Linked DNA regions of Homo sapiens: all the other regions are linked to region 3. The links are contacts of gene promoters, found by promoter capture Hi-C in blood cells and fetal thymus (Javierre and others, 2016). All regions are on one chromosome and are shown on one strand. Each heading gives the region's core, a stretch centred on a gene start or on the middle of the fragment in contact. The rest is flanking DNA. Distances are from core to core; before and after follow the strand shown.

What was found. The method cuts DNA at HindIII sites, captures the fragments that hold promoters and counts their contacts. A CHiCAGO score of 5 or more calls a contact.
Region 1: a contact is called between a fragment that was not itself captured here and the fragment with the promoter of ONECUT2 in region 3, in 1 of 17 cell types (megakaryocytes). The highest score is 5.9, in megakaryocytes.
Region 2: a fragment that was not itself captured here is called in contact with the fragment with the promoter of ONECUT2 in region 3 in 1 of 17 cell types (endothelial precursors); the score reaches 6.0 in endothelial precursors.
Region 4: a fragment that was not itself captured here is called in contact with the fragment with the promoter of ONECUT2 in region 3 in 1 of 17 cell types (endothelial precursors); the score reaches 5.4 in endothelial precursors.
Region 5: a contact is called between a fragment that was not itself captured here and the fragment with the promoter of ONECUT2 in region 3, in 1 of 17 cell types (endothelial precursors). The highest score is 6.0, in endothelial precursors.
Region 6: a contact is called between a fragment that was not itself captured here and the fragment with the promoter of ONECUT2 in region 3, in 2 of 17 cell types (endothelial precursors and erythroblasts). The highest score is 10.2, in endothelial precursors.
Region 7: a fragment that was not itself captured here is called in contact with the fragment with the promoter of ONECUT2 in region 3 in 1 of 17 cell types (endothelial precursors); the score reaches 8.8 in endothelial precursors.

What each region holds. Positions count from the first base shown.
Region 1 is chr18:56,695,157-56,699,114 of GRCh38, reverse strand. It overlaps WDR7 (WD repeat domain 7), which reads right to left. Exons shown (of 28, transcript NM_015285.3): 11 at 3,917-3,958; 12 at 2,653-2,873. Among named protein-coding and RNA genes, the nearest start is that of WDR7, 46 kb to the right of the region's middle. The HindIII fragment of the contact is 6,848 bases long and covers 1-3,958 here.
Region 2 is chr18:56,825,825-56,830,047 of GRCh38, reverse strand. All of the region lies in intron 20 of WDR7 (WD repeat domain 7), which reads right to left. Among named protein-coding and RNA genes, the nearest start is that of WDR7, 180 kb to the right of the region's middle. The HindIII fragment of the contact is 1,348 bases long and covers 1,604-2,951 here.
Region 3 is chr18:57,433,163-57,436,904 of GRCh38, reverse strand. It overlaps ONECUT2 (one cut homeobox 2), which reads right to left and starts at 1,531. Exons shown (of 2, transcript NM_004852.3): 1 at 1-1,531. The coding sequence starts at 1,188. RefSeq lists a silencer at 1,602-1,651 and enhancers at 1,645-2,224, 2,225-2,805. The HindIII fragment of the contact is 9,553 bases long and covers 1-1,915 here.
Region 4 is chr18:56,730,729-56,734,839 of GRCh38, reverse strand. It overlaps WDR7 (WD repeat domain 7), which reads right to left. Exons shown (of 28, transcript NM_015285.3): 14 at 3,243-3,457. Among named protein-coding and RNA genes, the nearest start is that of WDR7, 81 kb to the right of the region's middle. The HindIII fragment of the contact is 3,592 bases long and covers 300-3,891 here.
Region 5 is chr18:56,805,732-56,809,437 of GRCh38, reverse strand. The region is part of intron 19 of WDR7 (WD repeat domain 7); the gene reads right to left. Among named protein-coding and RNA genes, the nearest start is that of WDR7, 160 kb to the right of the region's middle. The HindIII fragment of the contact is 246 bases long and covers 1,906-2,151 here.
Region 6 is chr18:56,761,827-56,765,797 of GRCh38, reverse strand. The region is part of intron 16 of WDR7 (WD repeat domain 7); the gene reads right to left. Among named protein-coding and RNA genes, the nearest start is that of WDR7, 110 kb to the right of the region's middle. The HindIII fragment of the contact is 3,497 bases long and covers 35-3,531 here.
Region 7 is chr18:56,712,629-56,716,389 of GRCh38, reverse strand. All of the region lies in intron 12 of WDR7 (WD repeat domain 7), which reads right to left. Among named protein-coding and RNA genes, the nearest start is that of WDR7, 63 kb to the right of the region's middle. The HindIII fragment of the contact is 4,528 bases long and covers 132-3,761 here.

The DNA.
Region 1 (3,958 bases), core at 177-2,676, 740 kb after region 3:
CTTTGTCTTTATCAGGACTTTTGAATAAGAATTTTAAAATTTCTTTTTTTTCCTTTTTATAATTTCAATTTTTTAAAATTTAACTTTCATTTTAAGTTCAGGGGTACATGCACAGGTTTGTTATACAGGTAAATTTGTGTCATGGGGGTTTGTTGTACAGATTATTGCATCACCCAAGTATTAAGCCCAGTACCCATTAGTTGTTTTTCCCAATCCTCTCCGTCCTCCCACCCAAGAAAATTTCTATTGTTAAGCATGTAATAACTAAATTACAAATTGCAAATACATTATTTTTCAAGTACTAGACTTCCCTGTCTAGATCATTTTTCCTCATATTCTCCAGGCCAACTACCGCTTTTGGCTTGTCCAAGTTTAGTAGCGAGCCCATTCTCCGTTTAGTTGCATATATGTCTATTAGTATTTTATTCACTACATTTTATTTTTAAATACAAATAGTCAAAAACATTTTATTATTTTAAATACCAATCTGAATTTTTTTTTTTTTTTTTGAGACAGAGTCTTGCTCTGTCACCCAGGCTGGAGTGCAGTGGTGCAATCTCAGCTCACTGCAAGCTCCACCTCCTGGGTTCACGCCATTCTCCTGCCTCAGCCTCCCAAGTAGCTGGGACTACAGGCGCCTGCCACCATGCCCAGCTAATTTTTTGTAGTTTTAGTAGAGACGGGGTTTCACCGTGTCAGCCAGGATGGTCTTGATCTCCTGACCTCGTGATCCGCCCCTCTCAGCCTCCCAAAGTGCTGGGATTACAGGCATGAGCCACCATGCCCTGCCCACTTGAAATTTTTTAAAAGAAATTTGTTTAAAAAACACAAGGGAATATATAAGCTAAAAAAATGTATAATTAACATATTCAAATAGAGAGCATGACCTTGTGTAAGCCATTCCAAACTTTTTTTTTTTTAAACAGCGTTTCGCTCCTGTTGCCCAGGTTGGAGTGCAAGGGTACGATCTCAGCTCACTGCAACCCCTGCCTCCCAGGTTCAAGCAATTCTCCTGCCTCAGCCTCCTAAGGAGCTGGGATTACAGGCATGCACCATCACACCTGGCAAATTTTTTGTAATTTTAGTAGAGAAGGGGTTTCTCCATGTTGATCAGGCTGTTCTCGAACTCCCAACTTCAGGTGATACGCCTGCCTCAGCCTCCCAAAGTGCTGGGATTACAGGCTTGAGCCATCGCACCTGGCCCATTCCAAACTTTTAATCACATTTGTAATTTAAAGAAAAACTATATCTTATTCTATCTAATATTCTATTATTTTAAATATTTTATTCTCTCACACACACACAAAATCAATCAAAACAGAAATGGTTGTTCTAAACTAGTATAGAATTATCTAAATAATCAATTTTTGCATTGAAAAATTAGATATTTCACCAAATGTGCATTCAGAAAAGAAAATTGTCATGTTTCACCATAGGACATAACTACTATAAAATGAAGTTTAGGAGAGGGGTTGTAACAATACCTTAATTTATTAATGTAATTACAATAATATCTATTTCACCAAAATATGACATAAAATTGGTTAAATACATAGCAGTTTTTCACAGTGAATAAGAAATTAACAACCTAATTGGAAGAAAGGAATAAAAAAGAAGGAAGAGAACAATTAAGGAGGTAAATTTGCAAATCTGCCAGGAAAAATAATGAGAAACATTGGTACTAGGATTTCTTACAAAGCCACCAATATCAAATCAAACAAAATCTAGCACTGGCAGAACATGGTTGATAAAATAAATTATCAGGAAGATTAAGCAAGTAAGCAGAAGGGCCAAGAAAAATTTTGTAGATTTTGAAATGAGATATCTTGTAGATACTGCAGCAGATACACCAGTAAGACTGTTTTCAATTTCAGTAATACCAGAGCTGGTGACGGTGAATGAATTATGATAAGCATGACTTGTCTACAAGAAGACGATGTCTCTATATGTGCAAACAAATGAGTGAGTGTTGGGAGACAGTGATTATGCACACAAAGATGACTAATCACATGAATAAGTCCCATGATTAATAAACAATAAAAAAAAGTACTGTTATCAGTCCTAAGCCCTCCTAAAATCTCATATTTCTATTTATAAGACATCACAGCCTAACTTAAAATGCATCAGAAAGCAATCTGGTTCCACAAAGGTATGTATGAAATTTTCCAAAATCATCATCAGTGACTGTTAGGCTTTGTCTCCCTTGTTAACAACAATTTTTTATTTAAGTGAACTCTATCGATAAGTATTTTGCCTTTACCAACATATATATTCATTGTCTTTGCTCAGATGGACCCAAAAATAATGAGATTGTACAATGTCTTCAGGCATACTTAAATTATTTTAAAATGTAAAATTGAAACATCATTCAATAAACATTTTCTCAACTGCTGCTATGTTTCAGAAAGAAGCCAGACCATTTTGAAGCTAGTAAAAAAACACTATGTCTCTCTTCTGTTTCTATGTGCCCCAATAGTTAGTGGCCGTAACTTTGCCTAAATGTTACTATTATTTTAGTTTTAAAATTGAAAGGGTTTTCTTAATTATCTTGTCACACTTCCTTTAAGTTAGTCTAGATTCCATTTACATTCCTGATAGTAATATAACTTGGCTCTACCATAGTGAAATAATCTTTTATATAAATCAACTTACACTACAGTTTTCAGGTGGAACTAGAAGTTGAGTAATCTCACCACCATGAACACAGAAGATATGTTTCATTTCTCCAGAAAATATGTCCCAAATTATGACTGAAAAATCCACACCTCCAGATATCAGGTATCTTTGATCATACCGAGCTGAGACCTGATGAGGATATAGCAAACATGTGACTTTGTTCCGATGACCACGGAGTGTTCTGTGAGGTGGCCAACCTGTGAATGAGGGTTTGGATTTAAAATGGGAAAATTAAAGGTTTACCAAGTTTCAGTAAGTAAAAGTAAACATGAATGTTTAGAATAGCTACAAATTATATCACAGCAAAGGCTTCCAATTTTATCTTCTAACACAACTCTGCCTAATTCAGTATCTACTAGCCACATGAGACTACTGAGCACTTGAAATGGGGGTAATCCAGATTCCTATGTGCTGTGAATTTAAACTAGTCATGAGATTTTGAAGAGTTGATACAAAAAACCTAAAATATTTCATCAACAATCTTCATATTGATTAGAAGTTGAAATGAAAATAGTTTTTGCTATATTGGGTTATATAAAATATAGTCAATTTCAACTGTTTCATTTTATTTTTTAACACAGCTATTAGGAAATTACAGGTATGGTTATATATATATGGTTGACATTCGATTTCCACTGGCTGTTGAGAGGCCGAGGCAGGCAGATCACTTGAGGTCAGGAGTTCGAGACCAGCCTGGCCAACATGGTGAAACTGTCCCTACAAAAAATACAAAAATTAGCTGGGTGTGGTGGCACATGCCTATAATCCCAGCTACTTGGGGGGCTGTGCAGGAGAACTGCTTGAACTCAGGAGGCAGAGATTGTAGTGAGCCGAGATCATGCCACTGCACTCTAGTCTGAGCAACACAGTGAGACTCTTTCTCGGAAAAAAAAAAAAAAAAGATTTCTATTGGATGGTACTGTTCTGGAGGATTTTCAGAATTACTGGTAATACAGTAATTATTTAGTAATCCATAGAGATAACTAAGAGATGAAACTATTAACATATCTCAAAGAGATAAAATTGGATACTTCTTTATTTACAGTCATTACATTGTATTAATTCTAATAACAGGCACTGAATATTTTATCTGTGCATTAAACTCTACCAACTACATAGCACCCCAACAACTAACTACACTGATTCACTGTATTTATTTAAAAACAAAAAACAGAGACATTTTCACTCTCTGGGTAAGAGTTGTCAAAACACTTTAGACATACGGAGCTCTTCAGTATACCTCTTCTGAGCATGTGTTCCCCTTGCAACAGCTGTACTATGG
Region 2 (4,223 bases), core at 1,028-3,527, 610 kb after region 3:
CACTAACCAATTTAGAGCTGCTTGGATCCAATTTTCCCCATTTTTTAAAAAACAAAGACTTGTTGGACATTTGACTTTAGAAAACTCTGTGTTGTTATTTTCTAACTTTTCAATTTTAGACTTATCTATCTTTAAACTTATGATCCTCAACTATGGTCAATAAAAATTGGGTTCTCCTTTACATAAACACAACTTGCATACATCACATACACACTCCACATTCACACATTCACATACCACATTCACACGCTTTCTCCTGCCTTCTTCCTCCTGTGCCTCCCAATTTATATCACAGTTCTTAATAAAATTACATCATAATTAAGGTTGATAGTTTCACAATCTGTGCATGTTATGCATAACTCAATCATGTGGTTTTTGATAACTTTATCAGCACTGCTTTTTTTCCCTCCTTGCAGTCAATAACTGTCTTTTGTTATTTACTTGATTCTCTTTATATTTCAGTAATTTATCCCCAAATTCTCACCCAGAAGTGTAAATCTGTTATACAAGGGAGTAGATTCAGGAGCAGAAATCAAGCCTACCCTGGAAAATGGAACAGTTAGAACTTGCCAAATATCCAGAACATAAGGAAACTTATTAAATCAATACAGTCACGGAGACTTTCCACATGGGGAGGGGGTGCTGGACTTTGCAGCCTAAATGCTTCTCTCTCAGATTTCCCTTTTCCAAGTAACCCTCAGGGTGGCTAGGTTTCTGAGGGTTACAGTCCTATTTTGTGTGTGTGTGTGTGGTAGGGGGAGGTTGGGGTTTGTTTATTATTTTTTTTTTTTACAGAAGGCCTCCCTCTGTCACCCAGGCTGCAGTGCAGTGGTGCAATCATAGTGATCATTTTGTCTCAGCCTCCCAAGTAGCTGAGACTACAGGTGCACACCACCACACTCAGCTAAATTTTTTTTTTTTTTTTTTGGAGAGGTGAAGTTTCACTATGTTGCCGCGGGCTAATCTTGAACCCCTGGTCTGAAGCTATCCTCGTATGTGAGCCACTGTGCTCAGCCCTGAGCAGCATGTTCCTAAGGGATGTTGCCTAAAACAATGAGATGGGGGTTTGAAAGTATCAAGGGGCAAGACAGGTTTTATAAGGTTTATATAAAGGGTTATATAAAGATTATCTGGATCACTAGATCCTCAGCTTCCTCTTTCTTGGTTTACTTTCTCAATTTTGGAGGCACACATCCTCCACTAGTTCTTAAGACATAGGAGGCACATTTTTTGATAACCTGCATTTCTAAAACTGTCTATATTCTACTCTCACATTTAGTTGAATTTTGCTGTGGTACACCGTGCTCTGTTTTTGAACACACCCTCTTAAAAACTGAGCTGATGACAAACCATCCTTTGCAAGTATGAGAGTTATATTAAACATTCCCCCTTTTATCTTTCTCGGCAAGACTATTTAATGATAGTATGGTGAAGATCCTCTTTTAACCTTCAGATTTTAAAAAATATTTTAATTAATATTTAATATTTTAAGGTATCTTTCTCCATGGACCATATCCGTCTTGTCTATTATTTTTCAAACATGTTTTCTAAAGTCTAGTAATGACTGTCAACTAAATGGCCACATCAGAACATTCGGAAAGCTTGTCTCCATTATCTCTCCTTTTTACCCCTCACTTCACCATTGGCTGAACTCAGCTATGCATATGCAAATTAACTCTTCCTCAGCTACTTTTTCTTTTAAAGCTGCAGTTATGTCTGTTTCGTCAAATAATTCACCTTCATGGTCAAATTCAACTCAGACAATAAATGTGATAAAAGAAATCAATATAAAAGTGTTTAAGAAAATATAATTTATCAATATTTCACGAGCCAACTTTTATAAATTTGTGAAAATTTGAAGTGGTAGTTTGGATATGGCTTAGTTCTTGATCTGTAAAGTATAAATGTTTCTAGCAAGTTTATATCCTTGTAAAGGATAGTCAAACTACCTAGAATAAACACCACTAAGTCACTCAAAACTGATTTATAAATGATGTTAGTTATCAACCATTTATGTTATTAAAGCAAATCACTTAAGGATGATGGTGGTAATGAGAAGGGAAGTGAGGCAAGAAGCCTATCATATTTATTGAGCACTTACTATGCTCCAGTTCTTCTAAAAACATTCCATGCATCATCTCATTTAATCCTCAAGACAATCTTTTTTGTTTTTTGCTGTTTTTTTTAAATTTTTCATTTTTGTGGGTATATAGTAGGTGCATATATTTATGGGGTACATGAGATATTCCAATACAGGCATACAATTTGCAATAATCACATCATGGGAAATGGAATATCCATCTTCTCAAGCATTTATCCTCCATGTTATCAACAATCCAATTACACTCTTTTACTTATCTTTAAATGTACAACTAAATTATTTTGACTATGGTCACCCTGTTGTTCTACCAAATAATAGGTCTTATTCATTCTTTCTACCTATTTTTGTACCCATTAACCACCCCTCCCCCAACCCCCACTACCCTTCCCAGACTCTGGTAGGCTCTCTACCCTCCTTCTACTCATGGACATAGGTCCATGAGTTCAATTGCTTTGATTTTTAGATCCCATAAATGAGAACAGGCGACATTTGTCTTTCTGTGCCTGCCTTATTTCACTTAACAGAATGATCTCCAGTTCCACCTAGGTTGTTGTAAATGATTGGTCTCATTCTTTTTTATGGCTGAATAGTACTCCATTGCTCCATTGTGATTATGTCCCACATTTTCTGTAGCCATTCATCTGTCTCCTAATAACCTTATTATCCTCATATTTCAGGTGAGAAAATTGAGGCTTAGCACAGTCAAGTAACTCAAATAAGGGCATACAATGAACAAGTAAGGAAGCTGTCCTTACAGTCTGTCTGCTCTGGGCAAGGCCATTCTTCTTCTCACTCCCTCCACAGCTAATTATTTCTAAGTCTGTAAACTAACAGCTTGAGCTTGGAAGCTTTTCCCATGTCTCTCCACCTCCGCAATAAGCGCAGGCTTACCTCTTACATAACTCCTACCCTTAACTAAGCTCAGTACTCTGAATTCTCCCAGCTACAGAGAATATGCACATATATGTCATCTGTGCACTTGCATGCAGACATATCTAAAATTTGATCATTGCCTTCTCATCTAGAGGCTTGCTTTATTAAATCCCCCATAGAATGTGCTGATAGAAGACATAAGGCACTTATTCATGTTTTATTGAATAAAACTGAATATTCCTTATACTCCTTTTCAGTGGTACTAACCACACTGAAAAAATACATTTACAGAAAGGGTAAACAAAGAAAGAGTAGCTGGTTCTGATTCCCTGAATCCTTTCACACTGGATTTAATTCATCCATCTTTATTTAGGATAAATAGTTATAACAAAAAAGATGAGAAAATACTCTCAATATTTATCCTACCTATGAGTGAGGACTCCTCTTTCTAGTATGTCACGTGAGGAGAAAATACATTCAGGTTTATGGCTATCTTCACTTCAAATATTAAATATTACCTTTCATTTGTAATTTAAAACTTCAAATTAAGAGCAAAAGCTTTTACACTTGCAAGTGACTTGAAACCAAGAAATCATGGGGAAAGTCACAGATGATAGTAAATTTAATTATCTTTTTGTGTATTAAAAATGACTATGAAGTATCAGGAAGAAGGAGTCTTCAGAACCCGACATCTATTTTAAAACCTGTTTTTCCCCTTTAACATGGTTTGCACAGTAAAAGCAATCATTCACAGGTATGACATAGAGTCTGTGAATTATGAGACATTGTTGTCATTACTTTTGTGAATTACAACTTTTGGTCATATGAGTTTGATATCAATTATAAGGGCAATTCATGTAATATATAGATATATAATAGTGTGCCACAATCTAATGTAATTCACCCTTATCCATGAGTTATTATTACACAGCTCACAAAAGGCCAGACTTTAAGTTCATCCTGAAGGTTATTCACTCACAAGGATGGCTTCCCTCTACCACCCACCTGCCCTCCCCCAACCCCAATGCAGCATCTACATTATTATCCAACTAAGTATTTCTGCTTTTTTCCTGTTTGGTCTAAATTTAGCAAAAGAAATATATAATAGTTAATGCGAAACTCAAAACTTAAGGCTTTCTGATCTAATACTGTTTATGTGTTGGTGTATTTATGTGTGTGGTTTTATATGAACACGAGGTAGAAATTCTAGTTTATCTAGACAATACATAAAATTATCTTCATATACTGA
Region 3 (3,742 bases), core at 282-2,781:
CTGAAGCCACTTCCACATCCTGCGGAAGGTCTCCCTGCCAGATTTGAGTTTACTCCACGGTTTTGGATTCCGGAGCAGGTCGGAGAGAGTCCCCTGAGACCGGCACAGCACCCTCTGCGCAAAGATCGCCTGGGGGATACTGTAGCGCTTCAGCTCCGCTGTGATGCGCTGGGCCACCTCTTTGGTGTTGATTTCTTCCAGCTGGCCCGACGTGGCCACCTGCGAGCCCGATGAGGACGAGGGTGGCCGCTCGCGACTGGGTGCCAGCACCGGCCCGTGAGACTGAGTGTGGCCCGGGTGGTGCAGGCCGTTCAGGTGCGACATCATGGCCGCAGGTGGGGTGCCCAGGCCGCGGGACAGGTGTTGCTCACCGCGGGTCAGCATGGCAGTGTGGTGCGCGTCGAAGTTGGGGCTGAGCATTTTGTCGTGGCCCGGCGGACCGTAGTTGGGCAGACTCTGCTGCGCGTTGTGGAGGCCGCCTAGCCCGTTGCCCAGCGGCGTGGCGGCCAGCGGGGACAGGCTCTGGCTCATGCCGGGCATCTCCTTGTAGGGACTGTAGAGGTTGTTCATGGCCGGGAGCCCGCGCTCGTCGCGCATGAGGGTGAAGCTGCCGCTGACGTTGCCGGACAGGCGCTGGTGGTGGTGGTGGTGGTGGTGGTGCGGATGGTGGTGCGGGTGAGGGTGGTGGAACTTGTCAGACACGGTGGAGATGGGTGGCAGCGGCTGGAGCGGTGTCAGCGTGGTGTAGGTGTTGCTCATGCCCATGCCAGGCGGAGACGAGTCGCAGGACATGCTCATGGCGTGGTGCAGCGGGATGGAGAGCTCGGGCCGGTAGTCGCCGCCGTCCAGGATCGAGGCCATGCTGGTGACCATGGCCGAGCGCGACGCCGCCGCTGCCGCCGCTGCCGCCGTGCCCAGCTCCTGGTGCGCGGTTGGAGGCGGCGGAGGGCCCCGCAGCGAGCCAGCGGCGCCGCGGCCCGCGTGGTGGGGGCTGGGGCTGGCCAGCAGCTCCTGCTCATGGCCCGGGCCCCCGCCGCCGCCCCCGCCGCCCCCGCCGCCGCCCCCGCCACTGCCGCCGCCGGCCGGCCCGTGCAAAGTGCCCAGACTTTCCATTGTCAGCTCCGGGTTCATGGCGCAGCCTTCTAGGTCTTTGGTGAGGCATCGATAGGCGGTGTAGGCAGCCTTCATTCAGTCCATCAGGGCCCGGGGGCGGCGGGGGCGGCGGGGGCGGCCGGCGGGCGGGCAAGGCGCGCGTGGCGGGGCTCGGCTGCGGGAGTGGGGGCGGGCGCGGGAGTGAGTGGAGAGGAGTGCGCGTGCGGGTGTGCGCCCCGGGCTGCGGGCGGGCTCGCCCGGGGTGGGGGCGGGGTGGGGGCGGACGGGGCGTGCGTGCGGGAGAGGGGAGGGGACGGGGAGGGAGGGAGGGATCACCGGGCCCCGCCGCTCGGGCCGGCTCGCAGCCTCGCCATGTCCGAGCCCGCTCCGGCGCCGACGTCTTCTGTTTGGGTGAGCGGGAGCTGTCCAGAAGGGCTCTGCCGCTCGCCGGGGCAGCCAACCTACCCTCCCGGACCTGGGGCGGGGCCACGCCCGACGGGCGCCAAGCGCAACCACTCCGAGGCCGCAGCTGCCCCGGGAGGCGGGCCTTCCACGGGAAGCTACCAGTGGCTGTGGAGGGGGCGGGGCCGCACTTTTCAGGTTTGGCTGACGGCTCGGTGCCTTTTTTACCTCCTTTGCTACTGGAATCAAACGTCAAGGAGAGGGAGGGAGGAGAAGGTGGGGGGGTCGCTGGGGAGAGGGAGGCTGGAGTGCGAGCGAGCGAGAGAGATTCGGTGAAAGATGCCGTGCTGTGTCCCCCCTGAGCAGCTGCGATCTGGGGGAAGGGGCATTGCTTCAATCGCCTTCGCCTCACCCCAAAGCTTTCCTGGAGGCGAGTAAGCCGGGAGCAAAAGACTCCGCTATGTGCCAGTATAGACAAACACTCGTCACTAACAAGCCACTTACCGAGAGTCCCTAGCTGGGAGCCAATAGTTTAGCCTTTTAAAATGCAGGCGCTAATGTATTCTAATGCATGGTAAATTCCCGAGGCCGGGACATGCATAATCTACGCGGTCAGAGCAACTGTAGTGCCCTCGTCGCCAGCGAGCTGCGGCCGGCCGGCGGCCCACGGGCGGCGCGGGCAGCAGTAATGCATGCAAAGTTAACACAATAACATCATTTAATTACCCGGTGAGCCCATAAATCTCAGTTATGAGGCTTCCGAAGAGCCCTGCTAGATTGCAAAACAAAACTAGAATTCCGGGAGCTGCCGTTTCAAGGTGACCAAGTGCTTTCTGCATCAGCGACTTGGAAAGAAGTGGGGAGAGTGTAGAACCGGTGAGGTGGAGGTGAGGAGGGTCGCTGGTGTCCCAAGTGAGCAAACTTCTCCTGGGGGCAGAGAGTAAGCAAACCAGCTGAGACGGCAACCACGGACCTTTCTCCTAACACGAGACACACACACGCGCACACACACACACACACACACACACACACACTCCCGCTTCTCTCAAATCCCGGGAGAGAAACGGCGGTGGGCAGACGACAAGGAATCCTGGCTGACACCTGCATATTCAAACCTTGTTTCTGAAAAGACCAGCGCCCCGGCCAGCCTGAGAACGCTCACAAGCCAAGGCTTTAAAAACCGCACCTACGTCTTCCTAGAATTTCCGTTGTTTGGCAACCCCAGGTCTGGAGGTGGGAGTGGAACTGGGGGACAGAGAGTTGGAGATTTCTGCAGTCCGAGTCGGGGTGGAGGGGTAGTTGAAGACAGAGAGGCCAACACCCGGCATAAAGCCTTAAACGTAACAAGATTCTTCCAAAGCAGGTTGCGCTCTGTTTGCCTCCGAAGATTCAAGCTAGCTGAGGTTGCGCAGATGTTGCCTTTGTTTAAAGAGACAGTAATTAAGGACAGGGTGGACATAAGTTTGAGAAGCGTGACCTATTTTCTTTTGATCAGCTGTCAAAAGAAGAGCAGGGGGTCTCCTTAAGACAGCCCCCTTCAACCACTTCCAGCTGTTAGAGAAAACTTGATAAGAAAACAAGGGCAGAGCTCGGAATACTGTATGTCCCTTCTTGGTGCCAGAGAAAGGTTTGATTCATTTGGAAAACAGTTCTTAGTCTCAGTGACCTTTTCTGCCGCCCTCCTCTCTCTTCTTGCTTCAGAGCAACACCCCCACCCCCACCCTGTCACATGAATGTACAGTGACGTTATTCATAGATCAACTTCATTGAGCTCTGGCCAATACGCTGCCAATTATTCTTTCAAATAGCGTCTTCTCTGTGTTATCAAAGCCTGAGTAAGAAAGCGGCAGATCCTCTGGTTTGCCAGACATACTTTTCTGGTTGCTCACATCTCTAGTGTCACAACAGGAGCCAGGTAAAATAACTCAGATTTTGGTTTCTCTGTTTTTCCTCTCCTCCTCACCCCCTCCTACTGTCTCTCTTCGCACTCCCTACCTTATATATGGCATCTGGACACTTGGGATGATTTGAGTCAGTTAATGTTTGAAATATAATACTGAGTTGAGCAAAAGTTCACGAGAGTGCAACCTGTTCTTGGTCCATGAGTGCACAGGGACTGAAATACAGCAGGAGAGAAGCAGAACTGGGAAGTAGTGGGTCTGATATGCCCCAGTGCTAAGGTAGCCTCTGCTGCTCTGCTGGCTTCAGTCTCAAGGAGTGGCCAGTTACCCTAGGCTGATGCTTCCTC
Region 4 (4,111 bases), core at 846-3,345, 700 kb after region 3:
GGAAATAAAAAGATGAAAAACTGAACTGCTGTCCTGAAGAAGTTTAAAATCTAGTAGGGAAGACAAATATAAAGAACAAAAAATACCCCATACAAAGGGAAAAGTGTTTTGGGAAACGTATGAACAAAAAAAATGTGAGCATAAAAAGAATGTAAGAACTAACTCTGCCAAAATGGGTGGAGGGGCTAAGGGTTGGTAATGGCTTCACTGTCCTGAGGAAGAGTGAGATTAAAAAACAAGGGTAGGGAAGGGAAAAGAGGGATAGGATAGAGGATGCAGGATTCCTGCTATTTCAAGCTTTTTTTTTTTTTTTTTCAAAAGCAGTGGTTTTAAACCGGGGGCAATTTTTGCCTCTTAAGGGAAATTTGACAACGTCTAAAGACATCTGATTGTCACAACTGGAAAGAGGAGGCTACTACCAGCATGATGTGATGTAGGTAGAAGACAGAAATGATGCTCAGCATCCTACTATATAGACTCCAGTCCTCCAACAAGAAAGAATTACCCATCCCAAAATGTCAATCTGTCACAAATGAGTTATCATGGTCTACAGTCAAAAGGAACGGGAATAAAGGAAAGGATAAAGCTGAGATAAGTCCAGGATGGGTTAGAACACTGATAATACAGAGAAGGCAAGGAAGGAGAATGAGTTATATCTACACAACTTCACTCACCAAAACCAAAGGAAGAATGCAAAACTGAGCAAAACTTCCTTTTGCAAAGGAAGAATGCAAGTTACTAATGAATGCTCCACATCTAAAGGTTCATGAACACAGCCTTGAGGCTGCAATGCAGGGGTCTTAAGACAATCAGTTATGAGGGAATGGCAAAGACAAGGGCAAAACAGCGAAAGAAAAGGCTCTCTGCACTTTCTGTTCCACATCATCCAATTCAACACATAGTTATTGCACAGCAGCTGCTGCTAGATGTCATGGAAAAGCACAGAGATAAATAAGTCAAAAATCCCTGCTCTCAAAAAGACTGAATTTCAGTAGGGAGAATTAGATAAATATATAAGTTATCATAATATAAAGAAAAAAATACATGTCATAAGAGAAATGCAAAGGGTTTCAAATATACACAATCTTACAAAAGACTCCTTCACAGTAATAAAGTATTTTACTTAATACCCTCTTGATCTTCTACTGTGAGAAAAAAATCACAGGATAGTAAATTCTCCATCTTTGTGAAGTTTTCAATGTCCAGTATAATTAACATAATTAGCAAAATAAAATATCTGTTACTTCCATATAGCCCTGATTGCTAACACTATGTTACCAAGACAAAAAGCAGCACTTTCTATAGAGTATCCCAATACAGGCTTTGCTTTCCATTGAAAGACTCATGTAAAAAATTAGATCCAATATCCTAGAGTAAGTCCTGTACCATTGAGAAGCTCTTAGTTGTTTGTTTTTTACTTTGGGTGGGTTTATTTCTCCTGAGGTTAGAAAGCTATCCAGAGGACAGCTCTTTAAATATTCTCTTCAGAAGGAACCTCAAACTCAACATGAGAAAATAGTTAGAGAAATCCCTAATGGTCCAGCCAACATACATTTTTTATAAAGTGATTATCCTCCTGCAGCTTCAGCTTCCTAAGCCTTTTTCCTCCCTTCTATAATTGTTTTCCTTGTAGGCCAGGCAACAATTACCACTGCTACAAGACTAAGGAGGTTCACAAGCAATATATTTTACAATACATAAGTGTAGTGTCTCTGATATCTGGTGCTTTTATCACTAATTGCGCTATAAAATACGCTATTAAAACAGGGACAAACAAGATTGTAAAAATCACATAATGGACCACGACCACTTACAAAAGCCATTCATAACTGTTACTGTACCACTTATTTTTCTTTAATTTTCAAGTTATATAATTATTTTTCCAAATTTTTACTTCTAGGGGATACCATCAAGAAAAAGAATATATCTGGGAGTTACACCACATGCATGCATGCTCTTAAACATATTGTTTTATAAATTTGCTCAAAATCAAATTACATATCATGTCAGAAAATGTGCTATGAACACTGAATTCCTAGAGACAGCTACAAGATTCCTTGGAAGTAACTGAAGGTATGGCCAATGCTTTCAGCTGTGATTTCTTCACAAACTTTAGGGTTTGCTACTGAAAGCACAGAGGAAAAATGTAGAATGATTTCACAGTTCCAGTTGTTGAAATATACAATACAACATAGCTGATAAAACATTTATATCTTGAGGGAAGAAATAATGATCAAAGGGTGACATTACTGCGAACTACTGGAGGATGTGGGTCAGTGGAACTGCCTACAGTATTTCATGTATCATCAGCACGCACGAACTCATGGTTAATTTTCAAGTCTGCAGATGAGCCTTTCAACCCCTTTACTATTTATTCACATGTCTAACCATTTAAAAAAATGAAAATCAAGGAGAGACTAAAATTAAAAGTATTTGTGCCTATTCATTAATAACTCTAATGAATATTTAGATGGAACTAGAATTTTAAGTAGTGATTGAGATGAAATATTGAGATTGTCTCTAGGTTTGATTTATCCATTACTAGAGACAAACTAGTGCTAATTATACCACATGACACAAATACCACAGACCAAACAGTGGCTAGACTCTACAAAACTAAAGATAAGTAACCAATTCATGAATTGGGATTGGTTTTTTTAATAGGATCATCTTCTGTTAACTGAAGAAGTAACTTATACTTTATTAAGTGTCAGTAAGGAAAGTGTGTTTGAGCTTGGGTCTCAGAAAAATTTCAGTACTTCTGCAACACCATCATACGTATTCTGAAACATTTTCTTAAATCTTTACAATCGCTTAACCTTACTAAAATCAGAACCTAATTTTAAAACAAATGATACATCACAATTACAGACATCTTAATTGTACCTAAATTACTTTTTTCCCTCCTTAGGACATTAGCTAGTGCTCAATCTTTCAACAGAAAGACTACCAAAAAGTAAGACAGATTATATACAGTTGGTTTGCCCTAATTTCAGAAACTAAAGTCACTTAATTCAGTCGGAAGAATTTAAAAATATTTGAATGGTAAGAATAATATACTTTTCCAAAATGCCAAGTACTTGAAAAACTCAAACCATGTTGGATAAACCTAAATGAAAATCAAAAGTTTATTTTTCAAGGGTCATTTCTCAAAAATTATTTTCTAAGATATGCCAAAGCCATGTTACTAAATGAAGTTAAATGGGGTCTACACACTTCATGGGCCCACATATAAAACTTACCTTGTCAGATGCCTCAGAAGCCAAGAGGTTAGTTGCAAGGGTTTGTAGCTTATGATGGGCCATATTTTTAAGAGCAGCAAGACTACGTCTCGTCATAGCTTGTTTTAGGTTGACTGCTGGATGACTAAGTGAATCAACAGCAGCAGGAACAGCTTCATCACAAGCGTTTAGAATCTCAACTGCTGTTATCCCCATCACACAACGATCCAATGCACCTGCGAGAAAAATATATTCACAAATATTTCATAACACTACAACATTTTGAATAGTTTAAGTAAAGAAAAAATGGTATGAAAATTTTTTAAGTAGAAACATGTTTTATCAATGCCTCCTGGAAATTTTTTTTTGTACTTCCTTCCTCTAACAATCTTCCATGTAGTACCTACCACCTCAATGAATTCCTCTCCCACAAAGTCCCTGATGCAACTTCCCAATAAAGTCAAGTTCAGAGCTAAGATTCCAACAACCTTCTCCAGGCTTTTCCACTCTTTCTACCTCCCAGATGGTTTTCTTGACTACTCCTGTCCCATCGCACCATTACAAACATTAAAATCTATGATTTGACCTTCCTCTAAGTTGTATATCAATCTTAAACGAAAAAAGTCTTACTAAAATTTGTTTTTTTCCTCATTGAATAATTGCTGAAGCTTCTCTAAGAAACTTCCACAAAACAGAAAAAATATTATAATTTCTACATTTTGTCTGCAAATTCTTGACTCTTACTCTCACCATCCAGCCAAATGTTTCTTCGTATGTTTGTGGAAATTACCACTACTTCTACTTACAACTACTTTACTTATTTATTTATTTATTTTTTATTTTTTATTTTTTTGAGACAGAATCTCGCTCTGTCGCCCAGGCTGGAGTGC
Region 5 (3,706 bases), core at 779-3,278, 630 kb after region 3:
TTACTTACTTTCTGAGTATTTCCAAAATATTTGACAGTGATGAAAATCTCATAAAGGTTCAATAAATACTGAATACTTTATCTCATGGCACAAATTGCGTTATTTAAATATACTAGAAAATAACAGTAAGGGTACTTTGGGGAAAGAGATATGATAAAAAGAATAATAAGGAAATAAGGAGAGTAAAGAGATATAATAAAAAAGAAATACAATTAACAGAAAGACATGAGGCAGGTAAAAAACCAGTGAGTATCCAAATCCAGATTTCACAAAATAAAAAACCAATGTACATTATACCAAACAACAGTTCTCAATAAATGAGTTTTATATCATGCATCAGGAGGAAAATGGGGGCAGAGGGGGAATGGAGTGGGGCAGCAAGCTGGTATGAGTAAGTCTGGACACAACAGTAAAAGGGAAGTGGGAGGGTTGTAGCTAGTAGAAGTGAGAATTAGAGGACAAGAAAGACTATGAGATCCTCACGCCATCTAGATTTCTAAACGCTTAGATAACTCTTCATTACGAAAAATCTATATACATAAAACTTCCCAATTTTATGCAATATTTTTTAAGCCACTTCAGAAGTTTTTTAAAATATAAATATGGATATGCCATCTTCAAAATCAATGGAATTAAACTACACTCAACTAGCCCCACCAGTAAAATTGGGTATAGTATTCTAAAAATTATCTTTCATAAGCTTGTAAATTACCTTTATGAATTTTTTTCCAACTGGCTAACAATATCTGAGTAATAATAAATAACATGAACTCACAAGACTACAGTGTCATGTGATTAACATGAAATGCGAGAACAAAATACTAATTTTTAATATAGTAACATGTAAAAACCAGCACTTTAACCAATATGGAAATATAAAACCACTTCAGTTCATTATAGTTTCATTTTTTTATTGAAGATTAGATGGTAGTGATAAACACTGCTAGGACTAAGAATGGAGAAAGATATTTATAAATATTAACAAAAATTCTATTTCTCATTCTCAGTAATATAGATTTCCACTGAGATTGAAAAATAGATCCAAAAGAATGGCAGATATTTTTATTTCATCAGTTCCTCACAACTGTGGTTTTCCAGTCGTCCAATTAAAGTACACTGGAGGCAATAATTTGATATGAACATTTACTGTGAATGAGGTAAAATTTAACAATAAGGGAGTATGTGAGTATCTACAGTTTCTTTTCAGGCAGAAGGCCTGAATTTATTGGAAGCAGATCTCTGCAGTGACTGACCAACACTGCCCCACATTCCCCACAATCCTTATGACAGACAGACAGCCTGCCTCACATTAATTCACTTCACACCACTTCTATCGATCCACAGCCGGTTCCCTAGTCTCTCTGCACACATTGCCTGTCTGGCTGCCTACATCCACATCAGCACATACACACAAAGGCCATAGAAAGATAACCTTTTGCTTTCCATTAAAGACACAGTATCCACTTTTCCTTCTGCAATAACATCAAAAATATGAAATTAACAGTATAGATGTCTTGTAGAAAAGCCTTTCTGTAAGAAATTTATCCCTTATTCTGAATAAAGACCACTTCAATTTATCAAAAACAATAAAGTTAGTTTATTAAAGTCCACAAAGTAATTAGAGAAATAAAAATATAATTTAAAATAAGCAGAATGTCTTCAAGCTCAAATAACAATGTAAGAATTATTTGGTAACACGAGTTTTGATCTTTGTTTATGAACAAATGAAATACATTTTTTCCTAACTAGTATTTTTTTTTTTTAGAAAACTGCTCTCATATAAAATGTAATTATTAGCAATTCTGAAAGCAACAAAAGGGAAACATTTACTGAAAAATATGTAAGTAAAATAGAAAACAGGAAGTGTACTGTATCAATAGAATATTAATGGGATAGCATAAAGCTTTATTATTTCTCTTTCCCAAAAATATCTAAAAATTGATCCATCATTTAAAAAATCAAGCCTGATGCTTCTAATTACTGCATGTATTTTTTCAAAAATTTCTGTGAGATTTGCAGGATATGAGCTGACAACACCAATTTTGGTTTCAAAAGACACAAAAAAACCAAAGACTATGTTGTTCAACCTATAAATTGTTATGAAACAAAGAAAAAACCGTTTTGATACACAACTGTACTAAAGCATAAGCTTAACATTATAACCTCTGGCTGATTTAGAAACTCAAACTATAAGCAGAATTACATATCTCAGAACTGTGCTTAAAGTATGTTCTTTTAGATAAGAAGGTACCTTTGAAATCCTTCATGAATTTTTTTTTTTTTTTTTTTTGGCTAGGATCACCTAGGCAGAGGTTACATCATCAAGTGGTGACAAAAACAGTGCACTCACTACATTCAGTACCTTACACCTGTTGTTATTTATAACAGCAAGCTGCTTTGGAAATCAAAGGGAAACTGATGAAGGCTGCTGAAGTTGATGGCTTTAAAAAGGGGATGTTAAGATGTGTATTGGGCATGAAGGGTGGGATAGATCTGAGTAACAGAGAGGCTGGCATTGCCAATATAAGTAAAGCAAGCCATTAAAATGGTAAACATAACCGTGCAATAGGTATAATAACTGTGCAATGGTATAGGAAACAGTGCAATGTTCCCTCATTATACTAAACACTCAAGGAGCCTCCAGGCTATTATGCAACAAGCCCTATACCAGAGATTAGAGACACAAAAGTACAAAGACATACCCTTAGCTTCCAAAAAGTTTATATGTAAACTGAGGGAGTCATTAAATAAATTTAAGCACAGAAAATATCTTAATTTTATTTGTGTTTAGAAAGGGCTCTCCTGTAGCAATGTAAAGAATGACTTGGAGGGACTCGGTGAATGAAGGTAGCAATGAGGCCAATGATGTAAAACCGTGCTACTGGGAGCCCTAGTACTTCCTTAGAAGTGCCAGAAGGGAGACCTCTACCCTCCCCATCCTTACCTCTATGTGGTTGTGTGTATGCATGCATGCACACACATGTCCACATGTTTTACAGAAGTTTTCATTTGAAGAAAGGATACCGCTTTTCTAAAAGTCTGAAAATCACTGATCTATATATTTTTTTAAAGACAGTACTTAATGGAGAGAAAATCAAGAGTAGTTTTCAGTTAAAACACAGAATGGTAGGGCTGTTCTCTGAGCATGGCGAAGGCAGGAGGAAAAATTTATTCATTTAACTTTTTTGAATGATAGTTATTCTAGGCAAAGAAAATAAAAATGAAGGTAGGGAAACACAAGGACTTTACACTAGAGAATCTAATAGCCATAATGAAAATACAGATTTATCAATGAATAAGTGAAAATAGTTCACATATGGAGAAAAATCAGCTCTTCTTAGGATGGGAAGAGGAAGAAATACATGTCAAAGACAATTTCACAAGAAGGAAATATTTGAATTGGGTCTTGAAATATGTATAAGAATTCACAAAGAAATGACACTAGGTGAAGAAAACTCAAGGAAGAAAGGGTATGCTAAAAGTCCCTGGCGCATCTACAGAGCGGGTAGCAGGAGCATAAACAGTGTGAGAAGAGGTAGGCAATGAGGCTAATAAAACATTTGAGGCTAGAGCCCCAAAGGCAATGAGAAACAGGGTACTAACAGAAAATTTGAAGCAAGAAAGAAATTTTCATTCTTTAAAACAGATGCCTGGTTCCAGTATGGAAAATGAAGTAGAATCACTGGTAAATATAATTACAAGGTTG
Region 6 (3,971 bases), core at 534-3,033, 670 kb after region 3:
ATACATACATATATACATACATAAAAAGAAAGCTTAAAGTAAGTCCTTTTGTTAGAAGAATTTTACCAGATAGAAGTCTTGATCTACACAAAGGAATGTAGAATACCAAAAAAGGTAACTACGTGGGTAAATATGTATTTTTTCTTATTTCAGTCTCTTTAAAATATAATTACTGTTAAACACAAATCACAAGAATAATTTGTGAGGTTTATAACATATATAAAAGTAAAATGCAGGACAACAGTAGCATAAAGACCAGGAGATGAGAAATGCTAATATAATATTATAAGGTTTAACATTTATATTAAATGTTAAATAGTATAATAGCACTTGAATGTACACTGTGATAACGGAAAGACATAGACTACAGACTCTAAAAAAACTACTAAAATAATAAAAATTAGCTTATAAAGCCATAAAGGAGATCAAATGGAATCATAAAAAAAATCTTTTTAGTCTAAAAGACAGCAGAAAAAGAAAAAGAACAAAAAATAAATGCAACGAAGAGAAAAATAAGGTAGTAGGATAACAGATTCAAACCTAACCATATCAACAATCACATTAAATGTAAACGGCTTATGCATCTCAAGTAAAAAGCAGGTCAGATTGGATTAAAAAATAAGACCCACTATATGCTGCCCACAAGAAACACATCTTAAATATAAAGAGCCAAATAGGTAAAAAGTAAAAGGATGAGAAAAGATTATACTATGTTAACAGTAGCCAAAAATGCTGAAATTACTGTATTATTATAAACAAAGTAAATTTCAAAGCAAAGGACATTACCAAGGATAAAGAAGGTCATTTCATAATGACGAGGGTCAAATAATCAAGAAGAAATAAAAATTCCAAAGGTTTATGCACCTAATAAGAGAGCTTCAAAATACATGAAGCAAAAACTGGGATAGAAATGCAAGAAGGAATAAACAAACCCATAATTATAGCTGCAGATTCAATACTCTTATTTAATTGATAAAGGCAAGCAGGCAGAAAAATCAGCAAGTATATACTAAACTTGAACACGGGCAACTTGACCTGACTGACAGTTATAAAATATTCCACCCAACAACAGCAGAATACACATTCTTCTGAAGTACACACAGTATATTTACCAAGACAGACTATATTTTGGGCCATAAAACAAGTCTCAATAAATTCAAAAGGATTCACATTGTATAACATGGAGACTATAGTTAGTAACAATGTATTATATACTTAAAAATTGCTGAGGGAGTAATTTTAAGTGTTCTCAACACACATAAAATGATACATATATGAGGTCATAGATATGTTAATTAGCTAGATTTAGCCATTCCACAATGTACACATGTATCAAAACATCATGTTGTACACTATAAATGTACGCAATGTTATTGGCCCATATATAAACACAATCAATTGAAACAAATGCCAAAGGATTCAAACCACACAAAATATAGTATCTGACCATAAAATGAAAACCAGTAACAGACAGATCCTAGGAAAATCCACAAGTGTTTGGAAATTATATTAACTGATTACTAAATTATCCATGGGTAAAAGAAAAAAATCAAAAGGAAAATTAAAAGTACAATATGGCAAAGTGTGTGTAATGCCACTAAAATAATACTTAGGGGAAAATTTGTAGCATTGAATGCCTATATTAGAAAAGGAGAAAGGTTTTAAATCAATGATCTCAGCTTTTACCTTAAGAAATTAAAAATATAAGAGCACATTTAAAATAGAAAAAATAAATAATAATCAAATCAAAAACCAGTGAAATAGAAAAATAATAGATATCAATGAATAGAAGGCTAGTTCTTTGAAAAGATCCATAAAATTGCTAAACTACAAGACAGACTGATCAAGAAAAAGGGAAAAAACATAAATTATGAATAACAGAAATGAAAGAGTGAATATAATTTCAAATCCTACAAATATGATAGTAAAAGCAAAATAAAAGATTACACACAACTTTTTGCTGATAAATTTGACACAAATGATCAAAGTTCACCCAAGTAGACATTTTTGAAAACAAGCAGAATAGCCCTATATCTATAATACTTTTAAATCCGTAGTTAAAAACCTTCCCATAAAGAAAACCCCTGGGCTTTCACTAGTGAATTAGATCAACCAAATATGGAAGAATTATCAACCTACACTCACCCGTCCAGAAAATACAGGGAAAGGGGCTACTTCCTAATTCATTCTGTGAGGCCAGCATTATCCTATCAGCAAAACTGGACAAAGGCATTAATAGAAATGAAAACTAAAGACCAAACTTCCTCATGAACTTACACATGAACACCCTTAACAAAATTTTAGCAAATTGTACCTAACAAACTATAAAATTGGTAATTCAAAATGTGGTCTATATTGCAAGGTTGTTTTAAAACTTAAAAGTCAATATACTTTGTCTTATTAAGAAAATAAAAGACAAAAATCAAATAATCATTTCAATAGATGCAGAAAAAACATCTGAATAAAATCTAACATCTATTCATAATTTTTAAAATCTCGACAAACTAAGAATAGAATGGAACTTTTTCAACCTGATAAAGAACATCGAAGAAGGCCAGGCGTGGTGGCTCACGCATGTAATCCCAGCACTGTGGGAGGATCACGAGGTCAGGAGCTCAAGACCATCCTGGCTAACACGGTGAAACCCTGTCTCTACTAAAAATACAAAAAATTAGCTGGGCGTGGTGCGGGCGCCTGTAGTCCCAGCTACTCAGGAGGCTGAGGCAGGAGAATAGCATGAACCCAGGAGGCGGAGCTTGCAGTGAGCTGAGATCGCGCCACTGCACTCCAGCCTGGGCGACAGAGCCAGACTCCATCTCAAAAACAAAACAAAACAAAAAAACAAACAAACAAAAAAAAAACTTTATTCGTAGGCAACCCAAGGTAAAAAAAAAAAAAAATTCTTACTAAGGTAAGAAAAATTGGACAAAAGATATAAATAGGCATTTCGCCAAAATGGACATATGGATGGCAAACAAAAAACAAAACAAAACAAAAAACAGCACACTGAATCCAAAAAATGGAGGAGGATGTAAATAAAGAGCAGAATTTAAGGAAGTGGGGAAAAATATGCACTAGAAAGGATAAAGTCAAATTGAGGTCATTAAAATGACTAATAAGATTGATAAACCCCTGGTAAGACTGATGAAGCAAAAAGAGAGAAGACATAAATTATTAAAATCAGGAATAAAAACAAGGACATATTACAGATACCAGAGAGATTAAAAGACAATATTATAATCTCAAATGTCAATATATTTGAAAATTTAGAATCAGAGAAACTCCTAAATATGTACTACTTAACAAAACTGACACCAAAGAAACAAAATCTGAAAAGTCAATGAGATAAGTTGAACCCAGAATTAAAAACTGCCTACAAAGAAAACTCTAGATCTAAATCCAGCAAATTTAAATCTAGAGTTTGAATTTATGAAAGAAATGTTGCCAATCTTATACAAACTCTTCATGAAAATAGAAAAAAAAGAAAACATTCCACAACTCAGTTTTTGTAACCTGAATAATCTGAAAGCTTCTAAGGACATCAGAAAAAAAAAGTTTTCCTAAATAAAAAATATTAAATCAAATACAATAATTTATAAGAAAATAATACATCAAAACAAAATTGGTTTTATTCTAGGATGCAAGATTGGGTTTATGTTCTAAATTTGCCACATTAATAGAGGAAAATTAAAAGTTATACAATCATCTCAATCAATACAGAAAAGGTATGATAAAATCCAAATACACTGATGATAAACATTAGCAAAGAAGGAATAAAAGGTAGCTAGTTTCTTAACATCTACAAAAGCATATAGGAAATATCATAATTATGAAAGGTTTAAAAGTTTTCCCTTTGAAACTGGGAAAAGGTTATCTCATATGATTACCCTGACATTCAAAGGAATCCCCAGATAAATTATTTTAATTAATAGGTGAATTCAGCAAGATTGCTTGATACAATATTAGTATAC
Region 7 (3,761 bases), core at 1,146-3,645, 720 kb after region 3:
AATTACACACTATAATCAGCATAACAGGTGTTTACTCATGTTACAAGTTAAAAAAAAACTAAGTTCGGAGAAATAGTATTACAAACCTTCATTAAAACGTTAATAGAATTTTCTTAAGCATGTTTTAAGCTTACTTATTTTCCTGATAAACATTCAGTTGAAACATGAAATGTGATTCTTAATGTCTTAGCAAAAGACATTAAATACTGAGGGGTAGTTGATTCTGACACACACAAATTAGTTTTATAATTAACAAATCAAAACAAAATGGCAAACTACAAAAATAGTTAAATTTGGGTATGTTAGAACAAAACTGGGTAAATACACACACACACACACACACACACACACACACACACTGCTACGTATGTACGTTGCTAATTCAAAGCAACAGAGAGTTCAATACAATGGATGCTTTGCATTTCTACAGCTTATCATCAGTACTGACTTTGTCAAATATATCCATTATTCATTTTATAAAAAGGGTTGGTTGCTACATTAATGGTTAAATACAATATTCTATTTTGCAACATCGATCTGCCAAAAAGTGGTCATTTTATTTATTGCCCTCATCAAAGAAACAGTTATCTTTTTCTACGGGTATAATTAACTTAAAGAATGATGCCTAAACAGTATTCCTTTTAATCTGTTCATGTCCTCCCATCAGGCACTGATCAGTCACAGTATTCACACACCCAACACTACTGTTTTATATCTATAATATTTAATAGAGCCTCTATGTTGCCCAGGCTAGTCTTGAACTCCTGGGCTCAAGCAATCCGCCTGCCTCAGCCTCCCAAAGTGCTAGGACTACAGGCATGAACCACCGCGCCTGGCCACTGACCCTACTTTTGATTCTGCTACTTAGACTCCCAAACTCTCCAAAATCTTCTTTATAAAGAGCTAATCCCTAATTAGTGCCACACATCTAACTGACCTATTTGCTAGTCCCCACGTCGAAAGTCATTTCATTCATGCTCACATATACTCTAGTCATTCCTTTCCAAAAAGTAGAGAAAATGAAGTATGAGTCAATATGAAGTTTTGCCAATATTCTCTACTATGTTAGGCGTTCCTAAAATTCTGCCCTACTGGAGATCTCAACATCTGAGGTGACACAAAGCTGCTGACAACCACTGAGCTACGCATACTCTCTCTCTCTGTCAAAGATCTCCTTACCATAGTTTGTAATTTAGCAGAGAGAGGACTAGAGCCATTAAGCAAAGAAAAAAGGTTTTCTCATTCTTATGAGAAACTTGACCTTCCGCATTATCAACCCCTCATGAGAAGTTTCCCTGTCAGAACTTTCACCCTCCCCACAGATACACAGGCAGATAATTTCAAAGATTTAAGAAAACGTAATCTATCTTCATAAGACTTAAAAACTCTACATTATTACTCTCATGTAGTAAAAATAAAGGACATACAAAATGAATATTAAATAAGAGCATAGGATCTGCTTTAAAAAGTAGATTATGAGATGTAATTTTCTGAAGGTTAAAAAAAAGAGCTTTAACACCAAGATTCTAGCTTTTCATTTCTACATGACACATTCTCCTCTGACACATATATTTAACTAAATATGTTTTAAAGAATACTTTTATTCCCCTTTCACATAGTGTAATAATGAAAATTTGCAAATAACAAGCTCAATCTACAAAAAACTGTTTGGTCCAGGCCGGGCACAGTGGCTCACACCTATAATACCAGCACTTTGGGAGGTCGAGGGGGATGGATCACCTGAGGTCAAAAGTTCAAGACCAGCCTGGCTAACATGGTGAGAGCCCATCTCTACTAAAAATACAAAACAGTAGCCGATGGGGAGGCTGAGGGAGGAGAATCGCCTGAACCTGGGAGGCAGAAGTTGCACTGAACCGAGATCGCACCATTGCACTCTAGCCTGGATGACGGAGTGAGACTCCATCTCAAAAAAAAAAAAAAAAAAGTTTCGTCCAAAGTAAACATGATATACCATCTCTGTAAATGATAATAAGTATCTAAAGAGTTAACTTTAGCTTTACTGTAATAAGAAAGACTGGAAGTAGCCAAAATAATCAAGAATGAAAACAAAAAAAAATCAATATTACTAAGCCCAAGAAAGCATAGTTATTAGAGGTACTTAACTCACAAGAAAAGATGGTTCTGTGCTTTTTAAATATGGATTAAAATAAATCTAATTTTTCTTCTTTCAAAAAAATGCTAGTCCAACTCATATAAAGAAAACTGGCCTGAAGTGGAAATGACCCAATATAGTAAAACCTCATTAATTTTGATTTCACTAATTAATTCTGAGGTGATGGCTACCTTTGCAGCCTGTGTGAAAACAAATTAATGGTATAAACAAAGCAAATGTCTAGCTTATTTAAGTGTAAAAGGAAAAAAGACTATTCAAGCAACATTTCATATTAATTTTAAACAATGAACAGAGTAATAATAAATAATTCTCAGCTTTCTGTTAAATAAAAGCACTTAAAAGTTCTGATAAAACACAACTTGGTTTCCTCTTATCTGTCCTCAAAATTATTAAAGCACTTCTTAAAGAATACTTTATAACTCATATTTCTTCCTGATTTACACCCAGCTTCTTCACAAATGAGTTAAATTAGCACAATTCCTTTATTATTAAATTCTAGAGATCTGGGTTACTGAACACCTATTTCACCTGCAATGACTCATTCTATAATTTGATTAATTCCATTCTACTTCATCTTTTTCCATTTCAACCTCGAAAAGTCACCTAAACATGATTTAACACCAATGGCATTATAACAAGATAATGTATAAAACACTTAAACTGTATAAGTAAAATAATAATACAACAACTAAAAAATGTGAACCTCTTATCTTTAAACTTATTTGAAAAATATTTATGCCTCAAATTATTCCTATTACACATGCATTAAATAATTTTGAAATGTGTTCCCAATAGTTGTATATTTATAAATTGTATATGTGTAATTCTGTGCAATGTATCACCTAAATTGTAATAGATGCACAAATACATATATTTCAAAAGGATGACTCAAGGTTTAAATAAACAGATTTAAGAATAAACATTTCTCAAATGTCTCATTAATGTGAGTAACTTCACATTACATTAGCCAATATCTCATGTCACAAAATAGATCCTTAGGAAGGTTTCCTTATTAATGACAGTGGATGTAAATACAAATTTCATATAATTATAAATTTTTTGCTGCCCTCCTGCCAGACTGATCAAATGATCATTAAAACTTGTAATATAGCCGATGAAGAGATTTTTCATTAGAAATATCTCCCATCCATATTTTCCCTGCCCATTTTGTGATGGCTAGGTTTAGAACTATATAATATAATCTGCAAATCCCTTAAGCAAGCACATTTTAAGTGGAAACAAACAGGATGAAAGTAACTCTGGCACCCCACTTGAGGCTCACCCACTCTTGCCTGAGATGATGCGTGTCCCTCTGGTATGCAAAACAGGTGAGGCCACCAATGCCCCTCCTTCTAGTAAATGTTCATAAAGCTCAATTTCCTAAGATTAAAAAATAAGTAAGTAAAAGTTCTAAGATTTTCTTCCTATACCTCCATTGACTGTCTCATCTATTCTACTTCAGTAACCGCTGCTATCAACTGACTTAAAGAATGTAAACATAAAATTCCCCTTAAAAATTTGTATTGTTATGGAACAGAACTTATGCAGCACAGATGAAGTATTCTATCAACTTAGATAGTATTTTACAGGTGAAAGCTATTCAAATTCATGTTCCAAACACTGTATT